Regions from separate parts of the Homo sapiens genome. Here regions 2 and 3 are each linked to region 1. Evidence: promoter capture Hi-C in 16 types of primary human blood cells and fetal thymus (Javierre and others, 2016). All regions are on one chromosome and are shown on one strand. The core of a region is centred on a gene start or on the middle of the fragment in contact, and the rest is flanking DNA. Distances in the headings are between cores, read along the strand shown. Region 1 holds the start of SNAPIN (SNAP associated protein). Region 2 overlaps TPM3 (tropomyosin 3). Region 3 overlaps UBAP2L (ubiquitin associated protein 2 like).

Region 1 (3,882 bases), core at 1,152-3,651:
AAAGTCAGTCTTCAAAAGTATATATAAGAATGTAGGCCGGGCATGGTGGCTCACACTTGTAATCCCAGCACTTTGGGAGGCTGAGGCGGGTGGATTACCTGAGGTCAGGAGTTCAAGACCAGCCTGACCAACATGGTAAAACCCGTCTCTACTAAAAAATACAAAAAAATTAGCTGGGCATGGTGGCGGGTGCTTGTAATCTGAGGCAGGAGAATCGCTTGAAACCGGGAGGTGGAGGTTGCAATGAAATGAGATCGTGCCACTGCACTCTAGCCTGGGTGACAGAGGGAGAACTCCATCTCAAAAAAAAAAAAAAATGTAGGCCAGGCATGGTGCTCATGCCTATCCCAGCACCATTTAGGAGGAAGTGGCAGGAAGATCACTTGAGCCCAGTTTGAGAACAGCCTGGGCACCATAGTGATAGCCTGTCTTTTTTTTTTTTTTTTTTTTTTCCCGAGACGGAGTTTCGCTCTTGTTGCCCAGGCTGAAGTGCAATGGTGCGATCTCAGCTCACCGCAACCTCCGTCCCCCGGGCTCAAGTGATTCTTCTGTCTCAGCCTCCCAAGTAGCTGGGATTACAGGCATGCGCTACCACGCCCAGCTAATTTTGTATTTTTAGTAGAGACGGGGTTTCTCTATGTTGGTCAGGCTGGTCTCCAACTCCCAACCTCAGGTGACCTGTCCACCTCGGCCTCCCAAACTGCTGGGATTACAGGCAAGAGCCACCGCGCCCAGCCGATCCTGTCTTTTTATTTAAAAAAAAAAAAAAAAAGGCCAGGCAGGCCGGGTGCAGTGGCTCACGCCTGTAATCCCAGCGTTTTGGGAGGCCCAGGCAGGTGGATCACTCGCATGCAGGAGTTTGGGACCAGCCTGGGTAACATGGTGAAACCCTGTCTCTAGAAAAAATACAAAAATTAGCTGGACATGGTGGTGCATGCCTGTAGTCCCAGCTACTTGGGAGGCTGAGGTGGATGGATCGCTTGAGCCTGGGAGGTAGAGGCTGCAGTGAGCCTTTATCATGCCACTGCACTCCATCCTGGGTGATAGACCTTGTATCATAAAAATAAATAGCCAGGTGTGGTGGTTCACTCCTGTAGTCTCAGCACTTCGGGTGGCCAAGGTGGGAAGCTCACTTGAGCCCAGGAGTTCCAGACCAGCCTGGGCAACATGGAGAAACCCTACTTCTACAAAAAAATACAAAAATTAGCTGGGCGTTGTGCACGCTTGTAGTCCTAGTTACTCGGGAGGCGGAGGCAGAATTGCTTGAGCCCAGGGGGCGGAGGTTGCAGCGAGCTGAGATTGAGCCACCGCACTCCAGCCTGGGTGACAGAGGGAGACTGTCACACACACACACACAAGAATGTAAATGGCAGCAACTGAATAGTGAGAATGAGACGAATTTTCCTAGGTATTTTTCAAGTACTGGGAGAAGTGAATTTCCCTTTCCCCAAAGAATTTTAAAATTACAGTGGCTTTCACTGTGTTGAGGACTTACAAAAAAGGGCAAAGAATCACTGTTGGTAAGATATTCTTTTACCTGAGCATTCTGTAGAATGTTGTTAACCAAGACAACGCGTCGCCGGGCATTAAGTAGCTTCTTAACATAGGGGTCAAGATCCAGGGCCACCTTCTGATCCTCATTTATGCGGCACAGTTCTGGGGATGGAAGTAAGGTGCAGCTAAGATCTAACGGCTTATCTCTTGTTCTGAGGGAAAGCAGGCTGGTAATGGGATGGAAAACACTTGCACCCAAACGGGCCACAGCCATTAGAGATTTAAGACATCCCTGAAAGGAGGAGTCCTTTGGCAGCCCTGATGCCCTGGAAGCAAGTGACAGAAACTCAGCCCAGGGGTTGGCAAAAACCTAAGGTCCTGAAAGTGGGCTGAAGAATTCCGGGTACACAGGGATGCTCACTCACCTGTGGCTAGGTTGTCAATTTGTTCCCGGAGCTCTACCTGGCTCTCTCTGCAAAGAGGTACAAGGCCTACAAGGTCAGGCAGTTACCGGAGCTCAGGAAACGAACTCCCCTACGTATTTACCAAGTACTGAGAGAAGCCGGCCTCCGCTGAACCCTCCACCTGCGGCCTTCCCGCCTGTCCTCCCCGCCTCGAATCAGTTTCCTAAATTTATGCCCACTCCCAGCCAGAACACTTTCTTGGCCCCGCCCCTACAAAGCCAGAGAGACAGGCCCCGCCCCCAACTTCCCTCCCGGGCACCTGACGGCGTGTACGTGAGAGTCGAGCTGCTGCACAGCGGGTCGCAGGAACTCCAGCAGCCCTTCGGCGAAAAGGTCGCGGCCTGTGGGCCCCGCCACCGGGGTCCCTGCCCCCGATACAGCGGCGGAACCAGCCCCCGCCATCACGAATTGTCCTGAAGCCCGAAACCTGCCGCGAGGGCCGCCGGGAACCGGAGCCGCGCCGCACTGCCCCGCCCCGTGAGGGGGCGCCCGGGAAATGCTGTCTCCACCAAGACACCGGGGTTTCTGGGAAATGGAGTCTAGCGCGAACCGGGCGGGGAGGAGGGCCAGGCCGTAGGAGTAGAGGCCTTGTGGCTGGTCTTGAAAATCTCCAAAGTTCAGGTTGTAGAAAGGAACCAGTTTTTGGAGTGGATACTTTTCGTTTTCTTTAAAGGTGAAAATAAACGCGAATACCTGCAGTTGTCCATAGCCTTCCCATGTTAACTTTATGAGATAGCCGGGCATGGTGGCGGGCACCCAGCTACTTGGGAGACTGAGGCAGGAGAACCGCTTGAACCCGGGAGGCGGAGATTGCAGTGAGCCGAGATCGCGCCACTGCACTCCAGTCTGGGCAACAGAGAGACTCCGCCTCAAAAAAAAAAAAAAAAAAAAAAAAAGCAACCCAAACCAAACAAAAACAAACCAAAAACAAAAACACTTTATGAGAAAGCCACATTATATTCATAGTATCGTTTTCTATTTCTAAAGAGTTTATTGTGGTTGGTTGTTTTTAAGACAAGGTCTCTCTCTGTCGCCTAGGCTGGAGTGCAGTGCCACCGTCTTGGCTCACTGTAGCCTTCACCTCCTGGGGTCAAGAGGTCCTCCTGCTTCAGTCTCCCAAGTAGCAGGGACCACAGGTGTTAGCCACCATGCCTGACTAATTTTTCATTTTCTGTAGAGAAGAGGTCTCACTATGTTTGTTGCCCAGACTGGTCTCGAACTCCTGGGCTCAGGTGATCCTCCCAACTCAGCCTCCTAAAGTGCTGGGATTACAGACGTGAGCCACCACGCCTGGTCTATTTCTAAAGAGTATATTTTTAATGGCATTAAATATGTAAAAAACTGCATGTATCCGAATTTCATTCCTTTTTAAGGCTGAATAATATAAACATGCAGGCAGGGCATGGTGGCTCACTCCTGTAATCCCAGCACTTTGGGAGGCTGAGGCGGGAGGATCACCTGAGCCCAGGAGTTCGAGATCAGTCTGGGCAACAAACCTAGTGAGACTCTGTCTCTACAGGAAATAAAAAATTAGCCAGGCGGCCAGGCGCAGTGGCTCACGCCTGTAATCCCAGCACTTTGGGAGGCCGAGGCGGGTGGATCACGAGGTCAGGACATCGAGACCACGGTGAAACCCCATCTCTACTAAAAATACAAACAATTAGCCGGGCGCAGTGGCGGACTCCTGTAGTCCCAGCTACTCGGGAGGCTGAGGCAGGAGAATGGCGTGAACCCGGGAGGCAGAGCTTGCAGTGAGCCCTGATCGCGCCACTGCACTCCAGCCTGGGCGACAGAGCGAGACTCCATCTCAAAAAAAAAAAAAAAAAAAAAAATTAGCCAGGCATGGTGGCTCACAGCTGTGGTCCCCGCTACTTGGGAGGCTGAAGTAGGAGGACCTTGAGCCTAGGAAGTTGAGGCTACAGTG
Region 2 (3,736 bases), core at 478-2,977, 520 kb before region 1:
CTGTTCAGTTTGCCAACAACTTCTTATTATCTGTGCAAGTGAGATGGACTGGCTGGGTGACTCTTTATGGCCAGTGGCACTTTCTCATCTCCTTTGTTCTGGAGACCAGATAGCTTTAAAGGGGAAGACAGAGGAACTGGCCATGTGTTGAGCTGCAGAATCTTAGGCTCAGTATTTAAATATGGACATTCTAGGAGTAGTTCTAAGGTGGGTGATTCCTGCCTCCCATCCCCCCTCTTTTTTTTTTTAGATGGAGACTTGCTCTGTAGCCCAGCCTGGAATGCAGTTGCACGATCTCTGCTCACTGCAACCTCCACCTCCCAGGCTCAAGTGATTCTCCTGCCTTAGCCTCCTGAGTGGCTGGGATTACAGGCATCCACCACCACACTCGGCGATTTTTTTTTATTATTTTATTTTTTTATTTTTAGTAGAGATGGGGTTTCACCATGTTGGCCAGGCTGGTTTCAAACTCCTGACCTCAAGTGATCTGCCTGCCTCAGCCTCCCAAAGTGCTGAGATTACAGGCATGAGCCACTGCGCCTGTCCTGGGGTGATGTTTCTTAAGCTACTTTCACTCAGAGCCTGCCAAATTTGCTTATTGAGCTGAGGTCTAGTGAGGAAGTCCTCAGAATGGGGAAGTAGAGTTATAGTTAAATATTGATGAAATCATTTCTTCTACTCCCCAGCCTGAAGAAGCTTAATCTTTTGACTTTCTGCTGCTCTGCTGAACTTTGAACCCCTACTGAGGAGGAGACACCTGTGGGAAGGGAGGGGGGTTGCTTGGGCTACCTGTTATCCTCTTAAGGCATTCTGGAATGTGGGTTTTGCAGACTCCTCCCTCCTCTGGAGCGGGAAACTGCACTCTCTGATGGTATCTCATGCTGTTAGTGGGATTGTCACTTAATTATTTTCCTGGTTACTTTGTGTGAACATCCAAGCCACCCTTGTTGGGAAGCTAGATGAGTCTAAAACTGAGACACTGGTGTTCTAGGATCCATCTTTCTTTTCTGCTCTCGGCCTGGAAATTGGTCTTTTATAATGTAGCACCTTGTCAAATTTACTTTCAGTTCTGTATTTCCTTTTTACTTCTGTCTAAATGGAAACAGATGGCAACATAATGTTTAAATGCAGTCTTTTTCCTTATCTCTTTTTTTTTGTGGTAGTGGTGATAAAAATACATGTAAAATTTACCATTTTAACCATTTATAAATGTACAGTTCACCTTATCTGTTTTTAATAACTCTCTCCTAATTGTCCCTGATATTTTTCTCTTTTTAATTTTTTTCTAGTCTAAAAAACTTAAGAGGCTGGGTGCGGTGGCTCACACCTGTAATCCCAGCCCTTTGGGAGGCCTAGGCGGGTGGATCTGAGGTCCACCTGTGGATCTGATGAAACCCCATCTCTACTAAAAATACAAAAAATTAGCTGGGCATGGTGGCGCATGCCTGTAATCCCAGCTACTTGGGAGGCTGAGGCACAAGAATTGCTTCAACCCTGGAGGCGGAGGTGGCAGTGAACCAGGATTGGATCATGCCACTGTACTCCAGCCTGGGCGAGTATCGGCACTGGGGGAGTGAGGGGTCAACTGCGGGAGTGTAAGGTCAGCACACTACCTCTGCCTCAAAAAGAAAAAAAAAAGTAATAACAAAAACCTTAAGAGTACTACCGAGGGAGTGGGCTTTGATTCTGGCCTTAATCCTAAATTCCTAGTCTCTGGAGAGGTTAGAATGCTTGACTGTTGTGTGGTTCTCTTCTATTCGTGGGCCTGGTGGACTAAGCAACCTTTCTTTGGTTGCTTTGCTTTCCTTTCTCTTTCCCCAGTACTAGAACACACACTCACAGGGGAGAGGCAGATAGCCCTTTACCCCTGCTTAGGCTCCGCCTTTGTTTACTGTGGGGCAGATAGCTCTACTCCCTTCCAACTTGCCTCCCCTTTGGTGAAGTTTAAATTCCCCAAGGACACGGTATCTCCCTGGGTAATGCATTTGTGAGCACAGTGAACTCAAATAGTCCTTTACTCACAGGGCTCAAGCCTAACTTTCTGATACTCTTTCATTTGAATTTTATCTGTGGCTTTTATCTAATAAGAGAAACCCCAGTGTGGCAGAAAGCCAGATTTAGGCTAATCCCCTTCTGTCCTTGGCCCTGTTCTGCCTGAGAGTACCATCACACTGTCAGTTTCTTGCCTGGAGGGGTTGACATATTTGGGAAATCTCTTTGGAGTGGAGGATAGCCGAAGGTGTTGTCAGCCATCTGGTAATGTGACTGAGTTGCTGGGGCATTCTACTCTTTCCCCAATCCCTCACCCAGGATCTTTGCTTCCTGGGCAGTGGAGAATCCTATTATTACTTGAAGGGAAGAACCACAGAGTACTGTATATCCTCCACACTGGGCAGAGATAGGTCAGCTGAAACACCAAAACCGCATCTGGATGGGCATGCTAAAACCTAAGATGATTAGGAAAGTGCAGAGCTTAACGTTTCCCAGGGCCACAGGTAGCCTGGTCTGCAAAAAGTAGGCCTGTTCAATCTCTTGGTACCCATTGGTATTATTTGACCTGAAAGGGACAGGCACTGTGCATAGACTCATGAGGGAAAAGTCAGCTTGTCTTCCTTGTTCCTTTAAACAAAGTATCAGATCTTGATTCTGCAGGCTTTTGTTTCATTGTAAAGAGAACTGATCCTCTGTGCTAGGAGAAAAGAGAAAGGCAAGGTCCCATTCCCTACCACTCCACCCTGGAGGGGGTCTCTGAAGCTTTTTCTAGGACTCCCATCTCAGGTTCTGCTTTTGATACAGGCTTGTTCATGTGTGCATGCTCTTAGGAGGGCACCAAGATGTGTTTTCCCCCTCTCCCTTTTCAGCCTTGCTAAGAATTCTATTGTAAATGCTGATTTGTGGGAGAAACTGCCTGAGCCAGCTTGCTGTCATGGCAACTGTACACCCCCGCCCCATAGCCTGTTATCTTCTACTCCAGTTTGGGTAACTACTGGTGAGCTGCATGATGTCTTACATTTCATGAGCTTCCTCTAAATCTAGTTGTATTTTTCGTCTGAGGGGGGTAAGTCATTTTACTAGCAGTGTCTCCTAGGTCTTGCCTGATAGCCTGACTTGCTCTTGATCCATGGCCTTGTTGGGTTTGTGAGGAGAAATGTGTGTTGTTACAGAGAACATCTATTTTTCTGGAAGAGGCAGAAGCAGAGAATACTTGTCTTTGTGGTGTTTTGAGTAGTGTAGTTAGAGGCACAAATGGTTTCTTAATGATTTCAGCTTATGTTGACTTCTCGATTTTCTTTGCCTGGTGGCTAGATTGTAGCCCCAGCCCTCTGCTTCCCTTCCTAGTCTCTTCAGCTTCTCATGTTTGTATGTGGAAGTTTTTGTGCCAGTCCTGATGGTTAAAAAGGAGTCTTTTGGTCTATATTCTTCCTCATCGGAGCTAGTGGCCCAGGCTGTTTCTATAGCTGCACCAACTCCTGCCTGCCAGGAAGAAATCAGGGTAATAGAATTCAGGCACAATCTGGGCTATAGAAGAGAGATCGTGTTTACCAGGCACTTGGATAAGCATCTGAACTGGGTGGTGTGCGGGGCATATTAAATTCTTGTATACTGTTGCAGTCAGGGTACCTCCCACCAGTAAAGGTAGCGGGGAGGCAGTCATGGAAAGAGGTTTTCCTACCATTAGAATTTATCCATCCACCTGCAGGCTGCCTCCTTCTTTCCTTGTTTCTTAGAGAAAACC
Region 3 (4,337 bases), core at 827-3,326, 580 kb before region 1:
GGCAGTGAAGATCTTGGTCTCAGAAAGCTGGAAAACAGAGGGATTAGTCACTCTTGGTGTCAGGGATGCTACAGTCAGAAACTTGGCATAGGTAAGGGGAATTCAACATCAAGAAAAAGTGAAAGCCCTATAAAGAGAAAACTATCTACCCTGAGGAATCCTGAATGGATTGACTTTCAAGCCCTTCAATATATGCTCAATAGTTTTAGCCAAAGAAAGAGTAGAAGCAAGGAACCCAATAAAATATAGTGGAGTCACATGATCATATGCATACTGAACTTACAGGCATGCTAGACATAAAAAAAAAAAAATAAAAGAAAGAAAATCCCTCTATATTTTCCCATTACAGTTCCCAACTCCCACCTCTTCCCAAACCACATTTGTCTTCTACTACTCCCTTCACAGCCCCACCCCTCCCAAAGAAAGATCATAACCAAGATGAAGAAATAAATAAAAGAAGTTCATTTTTAGCTTTTGAGCAGTAAGGGCCCAAGTGCTGCTGAATTAAGGTTTTTATGGGAGATCGTTTTAACTAGATGTTATTTTTGCCTTAATATTTGACTTTGTGACATCTAGTCCTTCCACTATTAAGGCATCAAACTTAGGTAAGCAAATGCAGGGATTAACTTTTCCTACTATTCAAAAGTTGATTTGGGTTTCAGTTTTATTTCTTGATTAAAATCGCTAAAGCACAGAAAATCCACTCTCCCCTCAATGCCCAACACCATTTATCATTCTCTGAAAGTTGCTTAAGCGGACAAGCCAAATCTCAGAAAGGAACATAATTTGCCCATTTTCACAAAGCAGTCTAGTTCATTGATTATACAATAGAAAATAATCACCCTGTGATGCTGATGCCTCTGAAATTTAAAAAACCCAGAATTGGCAACCAAAACAGTCTTCACATGTCATTTCCTCTTATCACAAAAGCTGTCTTGCCTAACTACATGAAAGTATAGAAAAGTACATAGATTAAAAATGTTAAAACAAGAGTTTATCCATGATCACTGAAAACCATAATTCACAGCAGAAGCTTGACTGTGACCAGGAATCAGCAAAATTCTTACTCAGGTAGTACTCAAATGAATTCACAGAGCTTGTTTACGTGCCACCCATCTATGAGGTTTCCAAGTTAAGTCAAGCTGGCAGATAGCCAATTCTACAGATATTCATCTCAATCACAATTATACAGTTGGGCTTCAAATAAATACAAGGGTTCCAGAGTCAACCAGATTACAAGTTTGAGGATTTGGTACCACAACACTCGCTTTGGATCCACTGCCAATCCATTACAGGACCTTATAGCAAATACTTAAATGCACCAAGTAGTCATGTACCACCAGCAGCTGTTACTCAATGCACTACCTGCCTAACTCCACTTCTGGTGCCCTACCCAACCACCAATCTCTTCCTGGGATAAATCCGACAATCAGATATTGGACTTACACAAGTGCACTTGCCCTTTCCATAGTGTGGTTCCACAGAGTCCTGTTCATGCCCAGTCTCCTTCATATAACATATGTGAAATGTTCTGGCTCAGAACACTATTTTGGATGTAAAAGTTTTGGGTCAGAATCTTAAGGGTGAATTTTGAGGGGTAGAAACATACCCATTTTCTATCCCTAAACAACACTTAGGGATAGAAGGCATTAGTGAGGAATGACCTGGGAATACCTACATCTTCATTCCAATCTTCAGTCCCCCACTCCTCTGTTGCAGTCCTCCATGCACCTGAGAATAAAGAAAAATAGTGAAGTAACTTCACTATTAAATGCCAGTACAAAGCATGTATAGAAAACATCAATGTATTAATTTTTTTGGCAGCCAAAAGTATGACTAAAATTTAGTAATCAGAAGGCCAGGTGTGGTGGCTCACACCTATAATCCTAATACTTTGAGAGGCCGAGGTGGGTGGATCACTTGAGGTCGGGAGTTCGAGACCAGCCTGACCAACATGGAGAAACCCTGTCTCTACTAAAAATACAAAATTAGCTGGGCGTGGTGGCACATGCCTGTAATCCCAGCTACGCGGGAGGCTGAGGCAGAAGAATGGCTTGAACCTGGGAGGTGGAGGTTGCAGTGAGCTGAGATCGCGGCATTGCACTCCAGCCTGGGCAACAAGAGTGAAACTGTCTCAAAACAAACAAAAACAAAAAACAAAACAAAAAAAAAGAAATTCTTGGGCTTCAAAGGTAAGGAAACACTCTTTAGAAAAGGATATCTCAGAGTACCAGGGTTTTAATAAGATTATGATTTCATAGCTACTTTCAGTTTTTGTTACAAAGCAGGAATGGGGGTGGGGGGGGGGACAGACAGACAACCACCCAATGCTCAAAGCAGTATCTTTAAGGTCCTCAGGTTGATTTAGTGGTCAATTCAGTGAAATGGCAGCAGCCAATTTAAACCATAACATGCAAACTACACCTATTTATCTAGTATAAGACAAAAAATACTGTAGGCAGTCTGAAGAAGGATAGTAGCACTGATAGAGAAACACAAATGGTTACCACATAATGGTTAGTGAAAGAGCAGTGAAGAAGGGTGGGTTTGAAACCCGAACTGAGGGCATTGAAAACTATCTGCTATGAGAATTAGATTAAAAATGCATACTCAGCAGAAGTCAAGTTTATAGATCTTATTGGTTTAACTGTATAAGAAAAGCCCCTATAGAGCTGTCCTCTTCAAAAGACAATGAACAAGACTGAAAAATCAGGTATGAATGATAGTTACTGTCCTAACCTTACTCATATAGAACTTGAAACCTGACCTGCTATGGTCATGGCACAGACAACGGGAGTATACACTGTCCTTGTGTTTGTTGGTAATACGGAAGCTGGGATACAGTTTCTACTGGAGAAATCCAAAAGCAATCAAACCACCTTCCACATTCCTTTTTTGTGCTTCATGTATACATATATTTTCAGAAAAAAAAAAATGTCCTTTCTTAAAAAATAAGGGTGAGAATTTCTAACAAGAACCAGGATTCTTCCCTTCAGCCAAAGGCACAGTAAAAACAAGAACCTGTCTGAAGAAGGGACAAGAGCACCCTTATTTTCTTGCTAGAATAATATATATTAAATAACTCTTCAATCCTTCCCTCCTACTGGAAAAAAGCTTATAAGAATGAAATGAAAAGTCTGACATTCAGATGCTGTGCCACTGAAGAGAAGTATTCTAACACCACATTAGAAGTATTCTAATACAAAGCCCATCTAAAATTCTTCTAAACATTTAATAATGCAAAAATCTTCTTTCTTAGAGGAAAATATATTCATTGTAAAGACTTTCCCAGGAAAATATTAAAATTGCACCAGGGAAATCCTAAACCACTTAATAATGACAATATTCTCAAAACCAAAGTCCAATCTCAGTACAGACAAGTTACAAACCACATTCTTTTCTCCTTCATTGATACCACACTTTCTTCTCATTGACATCCATCTTATCCTGGCTCGATGGAATCCAAGTTGCATTAGCACTTATACACAATCCTAGAGTTAGACATGATCTAACAGGTTATTTAATCTAGGCTCTTGATGCAAGAATTTTTTTCTGCACACTGATGACTTCAACTGGGATGGAAAGGAGGAACGTAGACACCTAACTGGTATGTTCCTATTCAGGATATACGGTCATGGCTGAGGAAGAGAGAGAGCTGAGGAAGCATTAAGGAACAGAATAGATGGAAATGCTCTAAACAACAGACTAGGGTTTCCATTCCATTAGCAGAAAGCAATCAGTGTAACTGTCAAATATTCATTAAATGAACAGAAAGGTAAGTGGACACAGAAAAATGAGAGAAAAAGGCAGAAAGAGAAAAAGCAGAAAGACATAAAAATGACATATCCACAGATATTTCAGCTCATAAAAATCTACAAAAATATCTGGGGCAGTTAGGCACCTGGATGTATCATACCAGGAGCAGTCTGGGGGATAATTTTGGGGGATAATTTGACCCCTCAACCCCAATGAAATCAAGTCCTGAAACAAAAAAAAAAGAAAAGAAAAGAAAAAACAACCAGTGAAATTTTGCTTGTAAATGAGAAAGTCTGCCCCAATACATAATCCCCATTGTACCTGTGGATATTTTAAAGGTAGGTTTGGATTTTTTTTTTAATTTAAAGGGGAAACTCAAGTTTGCTATCAGGAAAACACAAAAAGAAACCATGCATGAAGGTATGTTCATATCATGAAATTAACAACGACCAGGCGTGGTGGCTCACACCTGTAATCCCAGCACTTTGGGAGGCCAAGGCAGGTGGATCACTTGAGGTCAGGAGTTTGAGACCAGCCTGGCCAACATAGTGAAACCCCATCTCTACTAAAAATACAAAAAT

What was found. Contacts are between HindIII fragments. The CHiCAGO score rates a contact against its expected background, and 5 or more counts as called.
Region 2: a contact is called between a fragment that was not itself captured here and the fragment with the promoter of SNAPIN in region 1, in 2 of 17 cell types (M0 macrophages and total B cells). The highest score is 6.1, in M0 macrophages.
Region 3: a contact is called between a fragment that was not itself captured here and the fragment with the promoter of SNAPIN in region 1, in 3 of 17 cell types (total B cells, naive B cells and erythroblasts). The highest score is 6.0, in total B cells.

Annotation. Positions count from the first base shown.
Region 1 is chr1:153,657,222-153,661,103 of GRCh38, reverse strand. SNAPIN (SNAP associated protein) reads right to left here and starts at 2,401. Exons shown (of 4, transcript NM_012437.6): 1 at 2,218-2,401; 2 at 1,920-1,966; 3 at 1,538-1,656. The coding sequence starts at 2,360. RefSeq lists an enhancer at 2,556-2,635. The HindIII fragment of the contact is 14,460 bases long and covers 1-3,882 here.
Region 2 is chr1:154,177,436-154,181,171 of GRCh38, reverse strand. All of the region lies in intron 2 of TPM3 (tropomyosin 3), which reads left to right. Among named protein-coding and RNA genes, the nearest start is that of TPM3, 13 kb to the left of the region's middle. RefSeq lists an enhancer at 1-979. The HindIII fragment of the contact is 2,058 bases long and covers 699-2,756 here.
Region 3 is chr1:154,238,907-154,243,243 of GRCh38, reverse strand. UBAP2L (ubiquitin associated protein 2 like) reads right to left here. Exons shown (of 27, transcript NM_014847.4): 9 at 1,679-1,731; 10 at 1-27. Among named protein-coding and RNA genes, the nearest start is that of SNORA58B, 19 kb to the left of the region's middle. The HindIII fragment of the contact is 2,081 bases long and covers 1,036-3,116 here.